2 separate regions of the Homo sapiens genome follow, and region 1 is linked to region 2. The links are contacts of gene promoters, found by promoter capture Hi-C in human tissues and cell types (Jung and others, 2019). All regions are on one chromosome and are shown on one strand. Each heading gives the region's core, a stretch centred on a gene start or on the middle of the fragment in contact. The rest is flanking DNA. Distances are from core to core; before and after follow the strand shown. Region 1 holds the start of TRAF3 (TNF receptor associated factor 3). Region 2 holds the start of CDC42BPB (CDC42 binding protein kinase beta).

Region 1 (6,519 bases), core at 1,491-3,990, 280 kb after region 2:
TCACTCCTGCTGAAAGCAAGTCTAAGCATCATTTCCACAATCAGGCCTCGGCTGCTTCTCTCTGGTAGCCTTCCAAATCCTCTGGCCTCACCTCCTTCTTTCTCACTCTTCCCACTTTCTCTGTATCTGAAGTCAGTTATTATGACTCTTCCATGCAAAAAAAGAACACCAAGTGATTTTTCTTCCTCCATGAACACTCGCAAAGCAGCAGCAAGGGGTCCTGATTCCATGGAGTGGACCCTAAGGGCCTTGGCCACGAGACGTCGCCTCTGCTAAGTTAACAGTTCTTTAAACTGACCATTGCAAGGAAATTCAGCTATTGCATAATACTTGATAGGTTAGATCACTTGCTGTTTGGAGAGTCTTGCTATATGAAGATGAGAAAATAGAGTTGGGCAAATTTAACGCAATTTCCTTTGTTTGCTTGAGCTAGCTCAGACTTGCAACGCCACAGTGGCAGTTTTATCTTTCTTAAAGTACAGCTTTAACATCATAAAAAAGGATTTTAAGGGAGTGATCAATCATTCTCACCTAACCTGACAATATCATTAGCATACGTATCCTGACAATACCCTAGAAAGGTCCTTCTTGAGTTGCACAGTGAAAAATTAAAGGGATTCTTGCAGGAGTATTTAGAGAATCAGAATCCGCAACGCAGGCTCAGATGTCTCAGTTAAATGAAGGACTTTCTTCAAGGCACAAACAAGAGTAGGGATATTTTGATGGTATTAACAGAAACAACTGGCCACTGTTACTGCCTGTTTCCAGTGAAATGTCTTTACAGCCTCTCACTGAGTGAAGCCATCTTATTAATTCCAAAAGAAGGGACAGCATCCAAGGAAAATAATTGGTCTTCTTTCCCCTCGCAGAGAAATTCACATGAATGTCTCAAAAAAAAAAAAAAAAAAAAAAAAAAAAAGCTGGAATTCTCCCTGGCCAGCTCTCTCTCCTTTCCTGGCTTCTGCATTGACAGCTGGAACAGATGGCGTCTGGGTGAGACACCTTACATCTTAACCCTTATCCATGATAAGGTCTGATTTTCACCAGCGATGCTGGAATCCAAGGTCTGTCAGGGTTTCCGTCATGAGCACCCACTCACAGGATTTCCAGTCCCATGTGATGTTTTCCAGTTTTCATATCGATAAGGCTTATCTTGTTTTGGCCAAAGAATTTTCATCTTTAGACTAATTCTTAACATTTACATTGTCACAACGCGGCGAAAAGGTACACATTTCCTCTCATTTGAGAAAAGAACGCTGTACACTATTTTGCCAGACATCCTACATATGATGCAGTCTGTTCACAGGCCATTTTCAAAGACGTGAGAGACATGAGAAGATCTCAGGACGAACTGATGGTCCACTTGGCCATTCCCTACAGTAAGAATTTTATAGACAAATACAGGGTAACAGCAAACAACATTTCCAAACGCTCCGGCAGTGTGTAGTCGCAGCAAATGCTAGGAAAAAAAATAAATAATGGCTCCTCTTCAGTTGTATGCCGTGAATGTAAATTAAGAAGCCGCTACAACGCTCGACATAACCTTTCTGACGCCACAAAAATGAATGAATTATATCCATACACACACACAGGCACACACACCACGCACCACGCATCACATGTCATTCTGAAAACTGATTCTGAGCTTAATTCGAAAAACGTGAAATACAACTGGTCCCGTCAACAGCTCGTAATCTGAAGGTTTCTTGCATTTCCAAGCACGTCCATAACACCTCATCCGTTTCCAGTTTGTTACTGTTTCCAACCGAAGGGAGAGAATTTTCCACACAGAATTATCTCCTCGGGTCCAAATACTAGACCGAAGTCCCCACACGGGGCTGGCTGGCGGCGTGGAACCGGCCAGCCCGCCGAGAGCCGCCTGGCGCCCGCGGGGAAGACGCAGAGCCCGCGGCCAGGAGCCGCCCGGTGCCCCGGGAGTCGCCGGCCCTCGGCGGCCGCGCGAGGGGGATTCGCGCCCTCTGCCCATACCCGGACCCCCGCGCCGCCCGCCAAGCGGTCGGAGGCGCCTCTGAGGCGGAATGACTCAGGACCAACTTTCCAATAACGCCCGGGCCCCCCCGGCCGGCCCGGGCAGCGCGCTCGGCCACGCAGCCCCTGAGCCGCCCGTCCCCCCGCGTGAAACCCGCGGCCCCGCGGGGTGCCGGGTCCTCAACGCCAGCGGGGGTCACGGCCGTAGCGAGGCCTGCGCGCCCCGTTTCCTGAAAAGGTGCGGGCGCCCCGGCCCCCTCGGGCCCCGAGCCCGGCCTCCGGGACAAAGTTTGCCGAAGTTGAGGCGTCCGGAGGCGGGAGGCAGCCCGGCTGGGGCGCGGGGCCAGGCTGAAGCCGCGCCCCGCCGTCGCCGCTGGGACGGGCCGGGCCTGCGCCGCGCCGGGCCCGCGCCGGGCAGCCCCGAGGCCCCCGGGCCCCGCCGCCCAGGGCGCGGGATGGAGGCGACGGGGATGGAGGCGCCCGGCCGCGCGCCGGAGGCCCGCCCGCCCGCCGCGGCCCCTTACCTCGCGGTCCGTCGCCGCTCGGCCGGCTCAGGGGCGCCGGGCGCGTCCTCCGCCGCGGTCCGCAGCGTTCTGCTCCCCGGGCTGCCCCATGGCGGGGGGCGGGGAAGAGCCGGCGGCCGCCGCGGCTGCCGCCGGCTGGAAAGTCCCGGCTGGGCTGCAACCCCGGCTCGCGCACGCGGCGGCCGCGCCGCGCTCCCTCGCTCCCTCGCTCCCTCACGCAGCCCCGCGCAGGCACTTCCTCTCGCGCGCTGGAAATCCCCGGCGCGCCCGCCGCCCCGCCCCCGCCGCCCGCGCGCGTGGGAGCGGCAGGAGCCCGCGAGCGCCGCCGGCCCCACGCGCCCGCCGGCCCCCCGCGCGCGCCCGCGACCCGTTGCTAAGGGCCCTAGCGCCCGGCGGCCGCCCGCCCGGCCTTAGCAACGGCGGCGCCGCGGCGCGGGGCGGGGACGGCCCCGGGCGCCCCCCGCCTCCCTCCCGTCCCCGCCGCGCGCCCCGCGGGCCTCCTCGCTCTGCGCCGCCCCCGCCGCGCCCCCGCCGCCGCGCGTCCCCGCGTCCCCGCCTTTCCGGGTCAAAAAGCCACGCAGGCCGCGTGGGGGCCGAGAGGTGCTGGCGCCGCTCCTCCCCGCGGCCACCTCGCCCGCACCCCCCACGCCAGCATAGCATACGCAGCCCCCGTGCGTGCACGCCCGTGTGCCCATGGCCACACGCGACCCCTACGCACACGCACGGGTCCGATATGCGGCCCCCCGCACTGTCGCGGACGCATACACGACGGTCACATTCCCCTCAAGCGGACACGCACACACACGCTCACCAACACCGTGCGCACGCGTACCAGGCCACGCACCCTCGCGCACACGCAGGTGGGGCTGAGGGTGACTCAGGCCGTGGAGCCCCTTTTCGCATGCAGAGGGCAGGGCTCCACATTAGTTTGGTGGCACTTTCCTTTCTCCCTCCCTTGGACCCTCCCACGCCCCCGGAGTGGTGTCTTGCTCACGGGTGGACAGGGTAGCCAGTTTGCCACGTGCCCCCAGCGTCCTCGGCGGTCCTGGCTGCCCCTGCGCCCCCTGCACCCTCCACCAGGCCGCTGGGGCCTGCGCATTTCTCCCGAGGCCTCTGCCTTCTGCCCCAAAGGCATCAGTGGTGTGTCAGTGATTCACCTAGGCCCACCAAGGCAGCACCCAGCCTGGCTGGGCCTGGCGAGGTGGGAAGCGAAGGGAGGGCTTCTGGGAGGCTCTGGGCCAGCTGAGGGGTGAGGCCTTCGCTGGAGTTTGCAAGTCAGTGGTGAGGGGACAGAAAGGACTTTGCATTTTTCACTTCTCAAGAAGGCTTATAAAGAGCCCTACCCCAGAGCTGAGACCAGTGTGAGTAGCCAAGGCCAGTCTGCCTTCTTGTATTGCTCCAGTGACTCATGTGAGTGGAGGCAGGAAGTCCAGCATCTCCTCCTACAGCTTCACCCATGGAACGTTCCAGAACCCCAGATAGTCCGACCTGGCTGCTGGAAGTCTATCTGGACATCAGAGACATTGGACCATGTCTCTGGCTCCATTAGCCCAACAGATGCTTGTTCTACAGCCACACTCACCAGGCCACAGTGGCACCCCCGTCTGCGCCACAGGCACAGCTCTTTTAGAGGTGACAGGCCCGCCTTCGCCGTCCCTCACAGGGACCTATGGACTCCAGCGGTCTCCCCCACCCCCATGGTGGACTCCCCTTGGGAGCCTCAGGTGCCCTTTCTTGCCTGTCAGGAGTTGGGATGTTACTGACCTCAGGCTCAGGGTCCCAACCACTTCCCATAGCCCAGGCACTGAGGCCTCCCATGTCCCCAGCCCTGCTTAGCCCACAGTCCTGGCACCCTGTCGACTGGGGCCCACTCCCAACGCCTGCCTTATGCTGTGTGTTACCTATGGCCTGGTTTAACTTTGCCAAAATCAGGAAAGACTCCCTTTCCTAGGCTGGACTATTTTTGGTTGTTTTAAAAGAAGCAGGACATGGACCGGGCATGGTGGCTCACACCTGTAATTGCAGCACTTTGGGAGGCCGCGGGCAGGCAAGTCACCTGAGGTCAGGAGTTCGAGACCAGCCTGGCCAACATGGTGAAACCACGTCTCTACTAAAAACACAAAAATCAGCCGGGCGTGGTGGAGTGTGCCTGTAATCCCAGCTACCCAGGAGGTTGAGGCAAGAGAATCACTTGAACCCAGGAGGCGGAGGTTACAGTGAGCTGAGATTGTGCCATTGTACTCCTATCTGGGCGACAGAGTGAGACTCTGTCTGGAAAAAAAAAAAAAAAGTAGGATGGTGGCTTATGCCTGTGGTCCCAGCACTTTGGGAGGCTGAGGCGGGAGGATCGCTTGAGTCCATGAGGTTGAAGCTGCTGTGAGCCATGATGGCACCACTGGACTCCAGTCTGGGCAACAGAGCGAGACCCTGTCTCAAAAAAATAAAAATAAATAAATAATTAAAGAAAAGAAAAGAAGAAGCAAGGCAGAAGGTCCAAAGACCCATGAGAGGGTTTTCTGCGGCTCTTTTCATGCTCCAGCCTAGCATTAGAAAGCAACATTGAGAATGAAGTCAGGCACAACCAGGCTGAGCCCTCTGCTGGTGAGACCTATTCCCTCCCTTTCTCTCCCTCCCCTCCTCCTCCTTTTTCTTCTCCAATTGAGCAGTTCTGAAGATCCTCTGCTGTGGGGAATTGAAGGGGGACAGGACAAAGAAGTTTGCCCCAAGCAGGGCAACTGCTTTGGGGGTTGGTGGCGGGTGTTCTCGCCCCTGCAGTTAGAGCCACAGGGCAGCAGTGATGGGCAGGAAGGAGAGCTCTCTCCTCGCTGTACTTCAAAGGCAGATCTCTGTTCCCTATGGCAACGTCCAACAACAAACCGACACCATCTTTGGACGCATTTCTCACAGGAGTTGATGTAGCATTACATGTTCTGCTTGCTGCATTTTTGGAGAAGTGCATGCAGATACTCAAGTGACTCACAGACATGCAACAGCTCAGAAGGCCATCCTGTTTGTCTTTCAGTGAGAAGGAAAAGGTATTCGTGGCAGAGTGCCAGGGGCTTTGGGGCTAGGAAAGGGGTTTTCTTATAACTCTCCCTGAATGTGATGGTCTGTGCCTCAGGTGGCGCCTTCCCACACAAAAACCACTGGCCCCTGTGGGTCAACTTGGGCTGAAGGGTGCTGGCAACTTCTCTCACTCAAACATGCTACACGTGGCCTGGGGGTGGGGGGTGGGGACCTTGGTTTTGATTTGTTTTGTTTTATTTTATTTTGAGACGGAGTTTCACTCTTGTTGTCCAAGCTGGCATGCAATGGCGCGATCTCAGCTCACTGCAACCTGCACCTCCCAGGTTCAAGCCATTCTCCTGCTTCAGCCTCCTGAGTAGCTGGAATTACAGGCACACACCACCATGCCTGGCTAATTTTTTGTATTTTTAGTAGAAACGGGGTTTCACAGCCAGGCGCGGTGGCTCACGCCTGTCATCCCAGCACTTTGGGAGGCCGAGGCGGGCGAATCACGAGGTCAGGAGATCGAGACCATCCTGGCTAACACAGTGAAACCCCGTCTCTTCTAAAAATACAAAAAATTAGCCAGGTGCGGTGGCGGGCGCCTGTGGTCCTAGCTACTCGGGAGGCTGAGGGAGGAGAATGGCCTGAACCCGGGAGGCGGAGCTTGCAGTGAGCAGAGATAGAGATAGCGCCACTGCAGTCCAGCCTGGGCAAAAGAGTCCGGCCTGGGTGAAAGAGCGAGACTCCCTCTCAAAAAAAAAAAAAAAAAGAAACAGGGTTTCACCATGTTAGCCAGGCTGGTCTTGAACTCCTCACCTCAGGTGATCCGCCCACCTCAACCTCCCAAAGTGCTGGGATTACAGGTGTGAGCCATGGTGCCCAGCCTCGGGGGGCGGACCCTGATGCACGGCAGAATCACAGTTTTACTAATTGTTCCAACAAGTGGCTTCTGAACCTTTGAATACATTTTACATGGTAACCCAGTTGTTCATAACCT
Region 2 (6,653 bases), core at 1,154-3,653:
GCTGGGACCCACCTGTTCACTAATGTTGGGGCGAGGAGTGTGCCAGTGTTTCCTGAGGACAGATGTGAGCTGGGTGGATGAGCAAGCACAAGACCCATGGATCCATTTAGGTCCTGTCCAAAAGTCCCTCAGGAAGGGCAGAGGGCCCCTCCCCTCCACAGCCACCAGGTAAGCATCCACCCAGTGGCACATCTGCTTGAGTTAAGGGGACTTCAGGAGACAAAGCAGCAGGGAACCACCGAGGAGCCCATGAATGTTCCCAGGAGAGACAGGGTCAGCTTTACCCTCTGCCAATCCAGATGGGATTGGAGCCCTTCCCCACTTCTCCCTTTCTCCCTTCCCGGTGGTGGTTCTAGATGGGTGGAAGTGGGCTGAGCGAGCCGAGGGAGGTTTGGGGAAGGAGATGGCACCAGGCACAGCCCCCTTTCCCCTTGCTCATCTCAGGCCCTAAGGGGTCCAAGGGGGAAGATTTAACTTTGATTTTGAGCCAGGTGATCTGCTCAGACTTTTTAAAAAAAACTTTTAAGGTGTCATACACAAATAGTAACATGCAAATATTTAGAATACAGTTTGATGAATTTATACACATTTACAGACCCAACGTTACAAAACGGCTGTGCTGAAGATACAGAATGTTCCCAGCCCCCTAGAGGCCTCTCCTTGTGCCTCCTTCCAGTTGATACCCCAAAGGCAACCAGTACTCTCACCTCTAACGCCAGATTGTTCTCACCTGCCTTTAAGAAATGAAGGTATTATATATACATACACACAGTGACATGCACTCATCTTAAGAAGACAGTTTGAAGAATGTTTACTTATGCGTGCTCCCATGTAACTACTACCCAAATCCAGGCATAGAACATTACCAGCAGCCCAGAAGGTTCCTCCTCTTGTTCCAGTCAACAACTCCGGCATAGGCAGCCACTCCTCTTCTTCTTCTTCTTCTTCTTATTATTATTACTATTATTAAGACGGAGTCGTGCTCTGTTGCCCATGCTGGAGTGCAGTGGAGCGATCTTGGCTCACTGCACTTTCGCCTCCCGGGTTCAAGTAATTCTCCTGCCTTAGCCTCTCGAGTAGCTGGGACTACAGGCGCGCGCCACCACGCCCGGCTAGTTTTTTGTATTTTAGTAGAGACGGGGTTTCACCGTGTTGCCCAGGCTGGTCTCGAAGTCCTGAGCTCAGGCAATCCGCCCACCTCGGCCTCCTAAAGTGCTGGGATTACAGGTGTGAGCCACCGCGCCAGGCCCACTCCTATTTTTAGCTCCAGAGATTAGTTTTGCTTCAGGCTCCCTTAACGTCCTGCTTCAAACCCCTATCTGCCCCTTCATCGGCTCCACCTGGAGGCCACCGCTTCCACGGAAGCATGACCCCTTCCCCTGCACCCGCGCGCCCCAGAAGCTCTCAGATACCCCCACGATTTCGGTGACCTTCCGCAAGCTCCAGGAAAAGCCCCTCCTCTCCTGACGCCAAGGGTTTGTTGGGGTTGGGGGGTATCTCCATCAGCCTCCCTCCCCCAGCCACCCAAATTAACCAACAATCTTAGTAAATGCAGCGACTCGCTAGGCAAACCCAGCCTGGAGACAAATATCCGGCCCCTTTCCTACCAAACTGTCACACCTAGGCATTGGTCTGCAGGGAGGGCTGGACAGTGGAAACTGAAACCCTCTGCAAGCCATCACGAATCCACCGGGCACTGGGGACGCTGGCTCCCGCCTTGGCAGCATCCCCCAGAAGCCTGGGCCCTGACCCCACACCGTCTGGGCCTCAGTCTCTCATCGGTAAAGTCAGGGGTAGGGCCCGAGTCTTCCAGGACCGCTTCGAGCTGGGACAAGCCGTTTTAAATAGCCCACAACCCGCCGAGGCCATCAGAGCTGCGCCTGCCGGGCCGCCCTCGACCCCCACCTCGGCCGGGCAGGTCCGAGGCCCCGCAGGCAACATGGGCCCGCGGACTGCGGGACGGGGCTCGACGGCCTGAGATCGCGACTCTGCCTCTCCGATACTTGGGGTCGTCTTCGGCCCCGGGATCCGCGACGCGCGCGGTCGGACCCCGAATACTGAAGGCACCGGGTCCGCAGGGCGAAGGCGCACACGCCCACCAGGCGCGCTCTGCGCATGCGCGGGCTCCGCAATCTCAGCGGCCCACTCGCCCCGCCCCGCCCCCCCCACCCCCACCCCGCGCCGCTCCCCAGGCCCGGCCCTGCCTTCCCAGCATCCCGGCTCCCTACGGCAAGCGGCGAGGCCCGAGCCCGCCGGGAGCAGGGAGCCGGGCGCGGGGCGGGGCGGCGCGCTGAGGTCAGCGCGGCGGCGGCCGGCCCCGTAGTGGTTGGCTGCGCTGGTGCTGGCCGCGCCCTGGTTGGCTGCGGGCCGCGGGGCTGGGCCGCCGGGTCGGGGCTGGGGTCGGGCTCGGGCGCCGGCCGGGCTTGCGCAGCGCTAGGCTCCTCGCCGCTCCTAGTCTGCGGCGGCGGCGGCGGGGAGGGCGCGGCCGCGGGCGGGGCTGAGGGCGGCGGGGGCGGGCCGCCCGAGCTGGGAGGGCGGCGGCGCCGAGGGGAGGAGAGCGGCCCATGGACCCGCGGGGCCCGGCGCCCCAGACTCTGCGCCGTCGGGACGGAGCCCAAGATGTCGGCCTAGGCCGGGGCGCGACGACGCGGACGGGGCGGCGAGGAGGCGCCGCTGCTGCCGGGGCTCGCAGCCGCCGAGCCCCCGAGGGCGCGCCCTGACGGACTGGCCGAGCCGGCGGTGAGAGGCCGGCGCGTCGGGAGCGGGCCGCGCGGCACCATGTCGGCCAAGGTGCGGCTCAAGAAGCTGGAGCAGCTGCTCCTGGACGGGCCCTGGCGCAACGAGAGCGCCCTGAGCGTGGAAACGCTGCTCGACGTGCTCGTCTGCCTGTACACCGAGTGCAGCCACTCGGCCCTGCGCCGCGACAAGTACGTGGCCGAGTTCCTCGAGTGGGGTAAGTGCGCGCCGGCAGGGCCGGACCTGCGGCTCTGCGACCCCCGCGCCCCAGCCCGCGCATCCCCACGCCCGCCCATCCCCGCCCGGACAGACCCTGCCGCCCTCCTGCCCACCCAGCTCGTGGGCTTCGCCTCCTCTCGCTCTGGCAGCGCCCCCAGGCCCGCAGCCCATCTCTCTCCAGCCGCTCCTTGCACCCTCGTCCCTCCGCTAGCTTTTCATCCCTCCTTGCCCTCCCTAGGCTCGACATCCGCGTTCGATCGTCCCGCCCCCTCATCCTGCCCCTTGGAGCCACATCCTACGTTCCCACTCCCACCCCCTCCCCCCCGCCGGGCCCTCGCCCTGGCGGCTTCCTAGATCCACCCTCCGAGTCTGGATATCATTTCCTGCAGCACTCACTGGGATATCCGCCCCCGCCCCCGCCCCCGCCCCCGCACCTCGCCTTTGGGGTCCGGAGGCAGTGTGGAATTAGTTCCCTTTCCCCACCCCACGCTTCTCTGCGTTGTGGGGGCAGCTGGGTGTGCTTTCTGCATCTGCCTCGCCCACTGCCCCGTGGGACCCCCTTGCATCCCCAGGGAGCCCAGCTCTAACGGCCCCTCCTGGGTGACAGCCTGTCTACATCCCCTTGTTGGTCAGAGCCTGAATACCTACTTTGCTGTAACACCTTCAAGGGAATTTTAAGGTTAAGGCTTTATTTTAAATAAACCGTGCAAGAGGACTTTTTTTTTTTAATTCCAATTCTGCTAGACCTTTGTGATATTTGGAGGGGTAGCTGGAGCTATCACTTAGAAACTTTCTCATCTGAATTTTGCATGCCTTCTCTAGTTCGTTCCGGATCTATAATGTTTTAATCATTGGTCAGCTAACCTATTATGCTTTTTTAGGACAAAAATTTGATTAAACCATTTAACGATAATTAGGATCCTAAAGACAGGTAAAAGTGCAGCGTGAAACTCTTTTACTTCATCTCTCCCTAACGGGTGTGCCGGTCAAGACCCTCAGACTGTCTCACCTAAAACCACTGAGTAGGAGGAGGAAATGCGTATGTTCAGGCCAAACCTATGAAAACCTTATCCTTGGGTCATTTGCGTCACTGGGCTAGGACTGTTCAGTTCGAACCAGTAATTTCTAATCTTTGGGGCTGATAAAGCTGATATTTATACGAAGAAACAAATGAAAGTGTTCCACAGTGAGGCCTCCAGGCCTCCTACTCTACTCTGCCAGATTGGTGACTGGAATTTGGAATTTTGTTTACAAATAAAACTTAAGTTGCAATATTCTTTAGAGGGCTTCTGTTGGATTACTCTGTAGTGAAATGTTACACGGTATCTTGTGAGAGCAGCAGTAGAAAGAGGTCCTGAGATCAAGGACAGCCTGTGATGCTTTATTTCCGTGGGAACCACCATTCTTGGTTACTTATAGTATCAGTAAATTAAGAGTATTTGCTTTCTAGCGTCCTTTGTCAGTGACACGATTTCCAACTGAATAATTAATTGACTTCACCGTTGCTTTGAAAGTGAGGTCTTTGGTGCATGTTAAAATCTGAATATTTTGTTTACCTTTTCTTTCTTTTCTTTGGAGACGAGTCTCACTGTGTTGCCTAGGCTGGAGTGCAGTGGCATGATCTTGGCTCACTACAACCTCCATCTCCTGGGTTCAAGTAATTCTCCTGCCTCAGCCTCCCGAGTAGCTGGGACTACAGGCACGCACCAGCATGCCCGGCTCATTTTTGTATTTTTAGTGGAGAAGGGGTTTCACAGTGTTGGCCAGGCTGGTCTTGTACTCCTGACCTCGGGTGATCCACCTGCCTCGGCCTCCCAAAGTGCTGGGATTACAGGCGTGAGCCACTGCACCCAGCTTGTTTACCGTTCCTTTCTGATCACTCGATCTTGAAACCCACACAGTTCCACTGTCAGGTTCAACTTGGTGCACCACCTGTGAGTGTGACTGGGAAGAGGAAGCAGAGGGAAAGTTGGTTTTGCTGGGAAGATGTGGTCCCACTGGCCTCTGGCCTGGGACCTAGAAGATTAGTCTGAGGGCGGGGGCCCTGGGGGCCATTGTGCAGCCACCTCTCTCCACCAGGCATTACTGGTGGGCTTCCCTGGAGGAAGCTCTTGTCAGCATGTGTGGAGGTCATATTTTATGAGATCTGGCCTTTCCAAATCTAAACGGGAACTGTGCTGTAACATAGACATATTTTCAAAGTTGTATTCTGGCTCTTTGGAAATTGTGATTACAAACTACATTATTCTCAGGAACTCAGTTTGCACAAAAGTATAAACTTTCAATTATAGGGAAGAATGGACTTAGAAGGTGGTGTTTTAATGAAATATCAATATATTTTACAAGTATTTAAACTCATTTATGTTAACATATACGTCATTGTAACTCTAAAGTGGTGTATTTCTAGTTAACATGTGTGCAGTTAGTATTTAATGTTGCTTGGAATTGCCTGGTTGTTTCGATTGGAAAGCACAGAATAATGTTTTTGAATAAAACTATTTATAGAGCAATATTAGGTACTCTAACTTCCAAGTGGAATTACTTCTGCTCAGGAAACACATATAGGCTGTCCATCAGTGGACTGTTCAGTTTTTGGATTCACCACTCCATGACATTTGAAACCTCTGATATGTCGATTCCTGTCACGTGGAAAAGCCAACCTTTCCCCACTTCCCAAATCTTGCCAGGTATCTAATGACAATTATGGAGAATTCTTGAAACTTAAGGAAGAAAAGTAGCTGATTCAGCCCAGATTTGGAGGCTTAATGGGGAATATGTGAGGAAATTTGGAAAGTATAGGTAGTAAACTTTTTAAGTTTTAAAGGAAGATTATGGCCTGGTGCAGTGGCTCATGCCTGTAATCCCAGCACTTTGGGAGGCCAAGGTGGAGGATTGGTTGAACTCAGGAAGACAAGACCAGCCTGAGCAACCTGACAAAACCCAGTATCTATAATAAATGTCAAAATAAAATTTTATAAAAATATAAAAATTAGCTGGGCATGGTGGCGCACACCTGTAGTCCCAGTTACTCTGGAGGCTGAGGTGGGTGGATCACTTGAGCCTGGGAGGTCAAGGCTGCAATGAGCAATGATCATGCCACTACACTCCAGCCTGGGCAACAGAGTGAGACCCTGTCTCAAAAATAAATAAAATATGATTATTTTTGGCTCATATTTTCTTATTGCCACAGTGGTCGCATGGGACAAGAGTCATTTCAACTTTTTTTTTTTTTTTTGAGACGGAGTCTCACTCTGTCGCCCAGGCTGGAGTGCAGTGGCGGGATCTCGGCTCACTGCAAGCTCTGCCTCCCGGGTTCACGTTGTTCTCCTGCCTCAGCCTCCTGAGTAGCTGGGACTACAGGCGCCCGCCATCACGCCTGGCTAATTTTTTTGTATTTTTAGTAGAGACGGGGTTTCACCGTGTTAGCCAGGATGGTCTCGATCTCCAGACCTCGTGATCTGCCCCCCTTGGCCTCCCAAAGTTCTTGGATTACAGGTGTGAGCCACCGTGCCTGGCCGAGTCATTTCAACTTTCATTGTAGGTTTTTGTCTTTAATTTTCCTATAGCTTGATTGGTTTCCTCTATGAAATCTTGAACCTTAATGCCCAGCTTTGCGTGTGTATTCTTTTCTTTTCTTTTCTTTTTTTTTTGAGACGGAGTCTCACTCTGTTGCCCAGGCTGAAGTGCAGTGGTGCGAT

Evidence for each region. The method cuts DNA at HindIII sites, captures the fragments that hold promoters and counts their contacts. A contact is called where the count stands out against the background at its distance.
Region 1: a contact is called between the fragment with the promoter of TRAF3 here and the fragment with the promoter of CDC42BPB in region 2, in 1 of the 25 tissues and cell types used here (liver).

What each region holds. Positions count from the first base shown.
Region 1 is chr14:102,773,670-102,780,188 of GRCh38, reverse strand. TRAF3 (TNF receptor associated factor 3) reads right to left here and starts at 2,740. Exons shown (of 12, transcript NM_145725.3): 1 at 2,514-2,740. RefSeq lists silencers at 1,898-1,957, 2,198-2,247, 2,458-3,067, 3,158-3,217 and an enhancer at 3,928-4,167. The HindIII fragment of the contact is 12,756 bases long and covers 1-6,519 here.
Region 2 is chr14:103,053,299-103,059,951 of GRCh38, reverse strand. CDC42BPB (CDC42 binding protein kinase beta) reads left to right here and starts at 2,403. Exons shown (of 37, transcript NM_006035.4): 1 at 2,403-2,953. The coding sequence starts at 2,779. RefSeq lists an enhancer at 1,266-1,916 and silencers at 1,912-2,021, 2,062-2,561, 2,652-2,731. The HindIII fragment of the contact is 24,533 bases long and covers 1-6,653 here.